3 separate regions of the Homo sapiens genome follow, and regions 1 and 3 are each linked to region 2. The links are contacts of gene promoters, found by promoter capture Hi-C in blood cells and fetal thymus (Javierre and others, 2016). All regions are on one chromosome and are shown on one strand. The core of a region is centred on a gene start or on the middle of the fragment in contact, and the rest is flanking DNA. Distances in the headings are between cores, read along the strand shown.

Region 1 (2,764 bases), core at 137-2,636, 82 kb before region 2:
TTAGAGCAAATCCCAGATATTATATAATTTCATACACAAAACCTAAAGTTTTTCGGGGGAACAGTGTGTGCTTGGAAAGATGTAGTTGAAAAGAAAGACTGAAAGCAAGTCGTAGGGCATAATGGATTTCTGAAGAAATAGTTGCAACCAGCAGAAGTATGGGCTATTGTGCAGAGGATATGGAAGTTAAAGAAGATCAATCTCTCTGCATCACTGAAAGGATTGCTGGAATGCCTGAGAAGTAAATAACATCAACATCTTTATCCACAGCTTACTAGGTGGCCAGACGCCCTGAACTGATATTTCTTCCCCAGTTCAGATGAATAGCTGGGATATTACTCAAAATTCTATTGCATATCTGTTGCAAGGAAAAGCAGTTCCTCTTTCCCTTCTGTGGTAATTTCTTACAAGCTACAGTTCTGGGCAGGGTGTGAGGGTGGTTGCCTAGAACGGGGTTTCCAAAGCTCCTTAATTGTGGCCTCTGACCCTTTTCATTGCTTCCATGTCCATACCCAGAGTCAAAACCCAAGGAATGCAGTGGGATGACATTACAAATTAATCTTAAGGAAATACGTTATATACCAAAAGAACTGTGTGATTGTGCTGATTTATATGAGCAGAATCTTGGAGTGCATGCTTGGAAATGAATTGTCAAGGTTTTAGATCAGGGAAAGTGGAATTTATTGTCGGGTCAAGCACAACTAATATTAATGCTAATGCATCCTCATCGCTTAGCTCCCACTTATGAGTGAGAAATCTCACCTTTCTCCAAGAATCTGCAGGAGAACGACAGCCTCAGATTTTGATTCACATGAAAAGAAATAGGGAAATAAGAGGGCGTACCTAAAGCCCAGGTGTCTGAGAGACAGAGTGGGAGTGGCTCTCACCTGGCAGAGCCAAGGGATCTGAGGGTGGGTAAAGAAGACACAAGTGTTTTCTCTACTTCTGTCCCCAGGTCCTGCGAATGATCAAGATCTATGCTCTCCCAGAACCACTGGAGAAGGAGGAGGAGGATTTTCTTTCAAAGCCAAGTGCCTTGCCCCCAGGATCTCCAGCTTTTTACCATTGCACAGGTTAGGAGAACGCACACCTTCCTGGTAGATTCTGCACAGTGGAGAAAAGGCTTCATGAGAAGCATGGAGGCTGGAACTCACACCACTCATCCTCACTCCATCGTCTTTATCTGTGCATTTCCCTGGTGACCCCTTCCTCCTCCAGTACCTCCCTCACTGTCGTTTCTGCTGCATCACAGGCACAGGCCTCCAAACAGGTGTGGTTGTGACTGAGTCTGTTTCTGACACCCCACCCCTTCTCACTGTGTGAGGAAACCTTCCTGGGAGGGGCTTGGAATCAGGAATAAAGCCAGAGGCAGGGCTGATAGGGGCCATTTAAATTCTGCAGCTCAGAGATTCACACAGAAGTCTGGACACAATTCAGAAGAGCCACCCAGAAGGAGACAACAATGTCCCTGCTACCCGTGAGTTAAAAAGGCACAGCCTTCAATAATCTCAGGTCACACAGAAAAGGGAAGAGGGAGATTTTATGGGATGAAAATATGAAAATTTCTACTGTGAATGCTTTACTGAGAGTTGTGGGTGTGTGGAAGAGAGACCCTAGGGCTATGGTATCTGAGATGCTCCTGGGGTAGGGGGGTAGGGGGTGTGGATGCTGGAACATTGTGACCCTCTGTGAGCATGTGATGGTATCTGATGAGAGTAAACTCTGCTAAAAATGATGTGACTTTAGACGGGATGTGTATGGCCCTCCAGGATATGGGTGGGTGTGTAAGTGATTGTAATCAGGTGACTGTGTTTTGTCTTCATGACTGTGATGTGAGTGTGTGTGTGAGCACAGCCGGACCAGTGCATGAGCATCTTTATATGCACAGTGAGCAGGTGTGTGTGACTCAGTGAGTGGCACGGCTCTGTGTGACTGTGAGTGTGTGTGCTGGAATGTGACTGGGTGTTGAACTGGGAACATGCATGTGGCCTTCTGTGCATGTGAAGGTTCCTCCCCACATAGCAGTACTCTGTCTAACTTCCCTTGTGCATCACTGTGGATCCCCGGTGACAGAACTTGTGGGATCTTGGGGCCCTTGAGTTACCGAGGACTTATCTCTGAGCATTTATGAGAGCAGAATGCATGAATTCTCAGGTGCCTTTTCCCAAGCAGAATGGGGGTGAGAAACAGACGATGGGGCTGATGGTTCCTTAGGTGGAATCTGCACACAGTGACCACTGGCTCCTGCCTCCAGCCTCAGGTCTCTCCCTGTCTCCTACCCTAGCCTGGCCTTCCCATTGAGTGCCAGGATGCTAGAGAAGGACATTGAGGGACTTGATTTAAGAGACTGAATCACCCAAAACCAGGAAGGTACAAGGCAGAGCTTACAGTGGATATTCATCAAGATGTTTGCTGAGGCCTGTAGTCTCAGCACTTTGGGTGGCCGAATTGAAAGGCCCATGTCAGGCCAGGACTGGTAGACCAGCCTGGGAGACATAGCAAGATTTCATCTTTCCAAAAATTTAAAAATTTATTGAATGTGGTGTTGCATACCGTAGTTCCAGCTGCTGGGGGGCATATGCAAGAGGTTCACTGAAGCCCAGGCCTTCAAACCTGCAGTAATTTTTTTTTTTTTTTTTTGAGACAGAGTCTCGCTCTGTTTCCCAGGCTGGAGTGCAGTGGTGCAATCTCGGCTCACTGCAACCTCCACCTCCCGGGTTCAAGCGATTCTCATACCTCAGCTTCCCGAGTAGCTGGGATTACA
Region 2 (2,756 bases), core at 70-2,569:
ATGCAGTGGTGCGATCATAGCTCATTGAAACGTTGAACTCCTGGGCTGCAGTGATCCTCACACATCTGCCCCCTCTTGTGTAGCTGGGGCAAAAGGTGCCTGCCACTCTGGCAGTCTGATATTTAAAGTTTTTTAAAGAAAGGGTCTCACTATGATACCCAGACTGGCCTCAAACTTCTGGCCTCAAGTTATCCTCTCATCTTTGTCTCTCAGATTGGTGGGATTATAGCCGTGAGCCAGTGAACCCAGCTGCTTTGTTGATTAATATCCACTGTAAGCTCTGTCTGAACTGAGACTAGACTTGTTCCTTCATGGGTGGAGGAACAAGTTTAGACTCAGTTGAGACATAGCTTACAGTGGATATTTTACGTGATTCAGTCTCTGAAACCATGGCCTCTAATATCCTTCTCTAGCAAACCTCCTGTCCCACAATGAAAAGGACAGGATAGGCTGGGGACAGGGAAGCTGAGCCTGGGAGGCAAGAGACAGTGGTCACTCTGTGCAGACCCCACCTGAGGATCCATCACCCCCATAGTCTCCATTCCTCTTCCCCACTCTTACTGGGAAGAGACATCTACTGATCATACATTCTGCTCTCATAAGTGATCTGAAACAAGTCCTTGGTAACTCACAATCTCCAAGATCCCTACCAGTTAAGCCACCTGGGATCCACATTGCCACACATGAAAAGACACACAGTTCCTTCATCAGAAGTGCTGTTGTGTGGGGAGGAACCTTCACATGCACAGAAGGCCACATGCGTGTTTTCCCTTCAATACTCAGTCACATCCCAGCACACACACCCACAGTCACACAGAGCCATGCCACTCACTGAGTTACACACACCTGCTCACTGCGCACATAAAGATGACCATGCACTGGTCTGGCTGTGCTAACACACACTCACATCACAAAGAGGAAGACAAAGTACAATCACCCCCCTTACACTCACACAAACACCTGCTTGACCTGGTGTGCCATCCACCTCCCACCTAAAGTCACATCATCTCATCAGAGTTCACTCTCATCAGATACCACCTCATGCTCACAGAGGGTTACATTTGTCCAGGATCCACAACCCACATGCTACAAGCATCTCAGATACCCAGCCTCAGTGTTTCTCTTCCACACACCCACAACTCTCAGTAAAGCATTCACAGTAGGAATGCTCATATTTTCATCTCATAAAATACCCCACATCTTTCTTGGTTTTGTGTGACTTGAGATTATTGAAGGCTGTGCCTTTTCAACTCACAGTTAGAAATGACATTGTCCTCTCCTTCTGGGCGACCTTCGGAATTGTGTCCAGTCTTCTGAGTGAATCTCTGAGTTGCAGCACTTAAATGACCCCTTTCAGCTTTGCCCTCTGGCATCATTCCAGATTCCATGCTCCTCCCAGCAAGCTTTCCTTGCAGCATGAGAAAGGGTCAGGTGTCACGAAGAAACTCAGTCACAACCATAACTATTTGCAAGTCTGTGTCTGTAATGCAGCAGAAATGACATTGGGGAAGGTACCAGACTGTGGATTGGGTTACCAGGGAAATGCATAGATAAGGATGATGGAGTGAGGGGTAGTGATTGTAAAGCCCAGCCTTTGTGCCTCTCAAGCCTTTTCTCCACTATGCAGAATCTACCCAGAAGGTGTACATTTTCCCAATTTTGTACAATGGCTAAACAAGAAAAAAAAAGTTGGAGATTTTGGGGGAAACAAGTTAGCCCTAAAAGGTAATTCTTCTCTCTGCCTTTAAATGTTCTGGGAGAGCACTGACCTTGATCCTGAGGAGGATCTGCAGAGAGAAGTAGAGAAATTTCTTGCATGAACCTGCCCCACACTAAGCCACTTGGCTTTGCTAGGTAAGGGCCACTTTCATCTGACTGTCACACACTTGGGCTCTAGCTACACCCTCTGTTGGTGTCCATGTAAATCAAAGTTTGAGGGAGACTGTTTCTTCTGCAGATTCTGGGAGAAAGGTGAGATTTAAAAAAAATTATTATTATACTTTAAGTTCCAGGGTACATGTGCACAATGTGCAGGTTTGTTACACAGGTATACATGTGCCATGTTTGTTTGCTGCACCCATTAACTCGTCATTTACATTATTTATCCTGATGCTATCCATCCCCCTGCCCCCCACCCCATGATAGTCCCCCATGTGTGATGTTCCCTGCCATGTGTCCAAGTGCTCTCATTGTACAATTCCCACCTATGAGTGAGAACATGCGGTATTTGGTTTTCTGTGCTAGTGATAGTTTGTTCAGAATGATGGTTTCCAGCTTCATCCATCTCCCTGCAAAGGACATGAACTCATCCTTTTTTATGGCTGCATAGAATTCCATGGTGTATATGTGCCACATTTTCTTAATTCAGTCTATCATTGAAGGATTTGGTTTGGTTCCAAGTCTTTGCTATTGTGAACAGTGCTGCAATAAACATACGTGTGCATGTGTCTTTATAGTAGCATGATTTATAATCCTTTGGGTATATACCCAGTAATGGGATGCTGGGTCAAATGATATTTCTAGTTCTAGATCCTGGAGGAATGGCCACACTGTCTTCCATAATGGTTGAGCTCGTTTACACTCCCACCAACAGTGTAAAAGCGTTCCTATTTCTCCATATCCTCCCCAGCATCTGTTGTTTCCTGACTTTTTAATGATCGCCATTCTAACTGGTGTGAGATGGTATCTCAATGTAGTTTTGATTTGCATTTCTCTAATGACCAGTGATGATAAGCATTTTTTCCTGTGTTTGTTGG
Region 3 (2,926 bases), core at 406-2,905, 120 kb after region 2:
CAAATCACACTGGAAGAGAAGCAGGCCATCTTCCTGCAGTCCATAGCTCTGTTGTTGTCCCCTTGAAGTTACCTTCCAGAGAAGTCCTTTCTTTTGTCTTCTGTGGAATATCACAAATGTGCTTTTTGAAGCATATATGTCACATGTAGGAGAACTCCATCTCTCCAAGAGAACTGTAGAAACAAAGTAAGGTACACGTGAGTCAGAATGATTTCCAACCCAATCAGCTCCCAGACACGACCTGTGATAGGTCAGAATTTTTAGATGGATCCTCCTGAAGTTCAATTGCCAGCAACTCTCATATTTGGATTCCAGCTAAATTCAAAGGATTTTTTTTCGAGACAGGGTCTTGCTCTGTCATACAGGGCTGGAGTGCAGTGGTGCAATCATAGCTCACTGCACAGTCCACCTACCAAGCTCAAGTCATCCTCCCACCTCAGCCTCCTGAATAGCTGAGACTACAGGTGCACATGCCACCATGCCTGCCTAATTTTTTTTTTCTGTAGGGACAGGGGTCTCACTATGTTGCCCAGGCTGGTCTCAAACTCATGGGCTCAAGCGATCCTCCCACCTTTGCCTCCCAACTTGCTGGGATTACAGGCATGAGCCACTACACCCAGCCACAGCTGACTGATTTTAAATGGAACATAGACTTTCACGTTTTGGGTTATCATCAGGATCAGAGCTAGCCACACAGAAAGGCTAACCATATCATTAGAGAGTTGGGGCTTGGAGCCATGTGATATCAGGTAGGAGGCTGGAGATTGACTTCAACAAAATGGACGATGGTTTAATCAAGCATGCCTAGGTAGTAAAACCCCAGTAAAAACTCTGGACACCAAAGCCTGGGTGAGAGTCCTATGTTAGCACTACCCCCACACTTATTGCCACACATGGACGACAAAGGGTAACACATCCCTAGGAACACAGGAACTTCACATTTGGAACCCTCCCCATCCCAGATTGTGCCTTATACATCTCTTCTAATCTGTGTCCTTTGCCTGTAATAAGCATGACTGTGAATATAACAGATTTCAATGAGCTCTGGGAATTATCAAACCTAAAGGTGGTTTTGGGAAACCCCCAAACTTCCAGTGTCAAAATATTACTTACAGGCCAGGCCGAGTGGCTCAGGCCGGTAATCCCAGCACTTTGGGAGGCCAAGGCAGGATGATCACTTGAGTCCAGGAGTTCGAGACCAGCCTGGGCAACATAGTGAGACCCAATTTCTACAAAAAATAAAAAATCAGCTGGGTGTGGTTGTGTGCACCTGTAGTTCCAGTTACTCCAGAGGCTGAGGCAGGAGGATGGCTTGAGGCTGGGAGGTCAAAGCAGCAGTAACCGAGATCGCACCACTGCACTCCAGCCTAGGCGACAGGGCGAGACCCAGTCTGAAAAAAAAAAAAAAAAGACAGGAGCTGGAAAATGACCGTATAAGGAACTTTACATTAATACTGAAGTGGTTGTAATTTAAGATACCGCGCAGTCCGCAGGTCCTCAGGCGCTCAGAGGACCAGAGGCGGCTACAGACGTAATGGCTACTCAGGACCGCTAGGGAACGCTAGAGGATTGGCCACCGTGCTTACGCATGCGCACACTCTGGCACGCACAGCGTTTACGCGCTCACTGAGACTCGCGCATGCGCAGGTCTCGCATACAGCAGTGCAGTGCCGTTATTCCAGTCTCCGTAGAAACGCTGGGACTATGGCGGAGCCGACTGGGCTGTTGGAGATGTCCGAGCTCCCCGGAGATAGCAGTGTCCCACAGGTGGGCACCGCGAGTGGCGTCAGCGACGTACTGCGGGGGGCAGTCGGCGGCGGGGTTCGGGTGCAGGAGGCTCGGGAAGGCCCAGTGGCCGAAGCTGCGCGGTCCATGGCGCGGATGCCGGGCCCTGTGCCCGGGCCCATCCCCAGCAGCGTCCCGGGCCTGGCCTCCGCGCCAGACCCCCATCAGCAGCTCGCTTTCTTAGAAATTAACCGGCAGCTGTTGTTCCGCGAGTATCTGGATGGTAGCTCCATGATTCCGGTCAGATTACTACGGGATTTCGAGGAACGCCGCAGGCTGTTTGTGGAAGGCTGCAAGGCGAGGGAAGCAGCCTTTGACGCGGATCCCCCGCAGATGGACTTCGCTGCTGTCGCGTTTACGGTAGCGCTGACTGCCTCCGAGGCCCTCAGTCCTCTGGCCGACTGAGTCGGCTGTGATGATGACATTGGTGGCAAGGAATAGCCAAGTGACCCTTTTGGGATCAAAAGAACAGGCAGGCTGTGCCAGTTTAGTTAACTCAGTCATTAGGGGGAATGCAAACTGGAAGGGAATACGGCAATGTGCAATTGAAGGAGGAAGCACACTCCGAAATGGAAACAGACAAGACTGTTGAATCTTGTTTTCTTTCTTCTTTTTTAGTATTATTTAAATAGAGAAGGGAGTCTCGCATCCCTAGGCTGGTCCCGAACGCTTGGACCCGAGCGATCCTCCCGCTTCGGCCTCCCAAAGTGCTGGGATTACTTTACAGGCGTGAGCCACCGCGCCCGGCCGAATCTTGTTTTCAAACAGGTCCCAAGACACTTCTGACTTAGCACTTTGTTAGCAATGCATTTTCCTGCATTTGTGAAGAATCCTTCATGACTTTCACCATAAAGGATGGTTTTGCAAAGATATGAGAAAAAAAAAATGCCAATAACAGAACCCATAGAAATGAACCTAAGTGATGAAAGAAAACAAAGAAATAGAGTTGTCAGGAATCCAGGTGTACCTGAGTTACTAGGATTGGAAGGCTATTGAGAGGACTTTGAAATTTCACAATTTGTGGTCATGTCAACAAATCCTAGTGTAAGATTCATATTTGTGTTTTCTGAGGTACTTTAGATGAACAGTAAATATTCAATAGAAAAAACCACGTATTATATGATCAGTGTTTTCAAGTCTA

What was found. The method cuts DNA at HindIII sites, captures the fragments that hold promoters and counts their contacts. A CHiCAGO score of 5 or more calls a contact.
Region 1: the fragment with the promoter of CLC here is called in contact with the fragment with the promoter of LGALS16 in region 2 in 1 of 17 cell types (fetal thymus); the score reaches 5.7 in fetal thymus.
Region 3: a contact is called between the fragment with the promoter of EID2B here and the fragment with the promoter of LGALS16 in region 2, in 7 of 17 cell types (non-activated CD4 T cells, activated CD4 T cells, naive CD4 T cells and 4 more). The highest score is 9.1, in non-activated CD4 T cells.

What each region holds. Positions count from the first base shown.
Region 1 is chr19:39,736,651-39,739,414 of GRCh38, reverse strand. It overlaps CLC (Charcot-Leyden crystal galectin), which reads left to right and starts at 1,386. Exons shown (of 4, transcript NM_001828.6): 1 at 1,386-1,477. The coding sequence starts at 1,463. The HindIII fragment of the contact is 8,050 bases long and covers 1-2,764 here.
Region 2 is chr19:39,654,476-39,657,231 of GRCh38, reverse strand. LGALS16 (galectin 16) reads right to left here and starts at 1,319. Exons shown (of 4, transcript NM_001190441.3): 1 at 1,256-1,319. The coding sequence starts at 1,270. The HindIII fragment of the contact is 3,782 bases long and covers 1-1,405 here.
Region 3 is chr19:39,531,581-39,534,506 of GRCh38, reverse strand. It overlaps EID2B (EP300 interacting inhibitor of differentiation 2B), which reads left to right and starts at 1,655. Exons shown (of 1, transcript NM_152361.3): 1 at 1,655-2,926. The coding sequence starts at 1,705. The coding sequence ends at 2,190. It also overlaps the pseudogene CRIPTOP7. The HindIII fragment of the contact is 7,702 bases long and covers 1-2,926 here.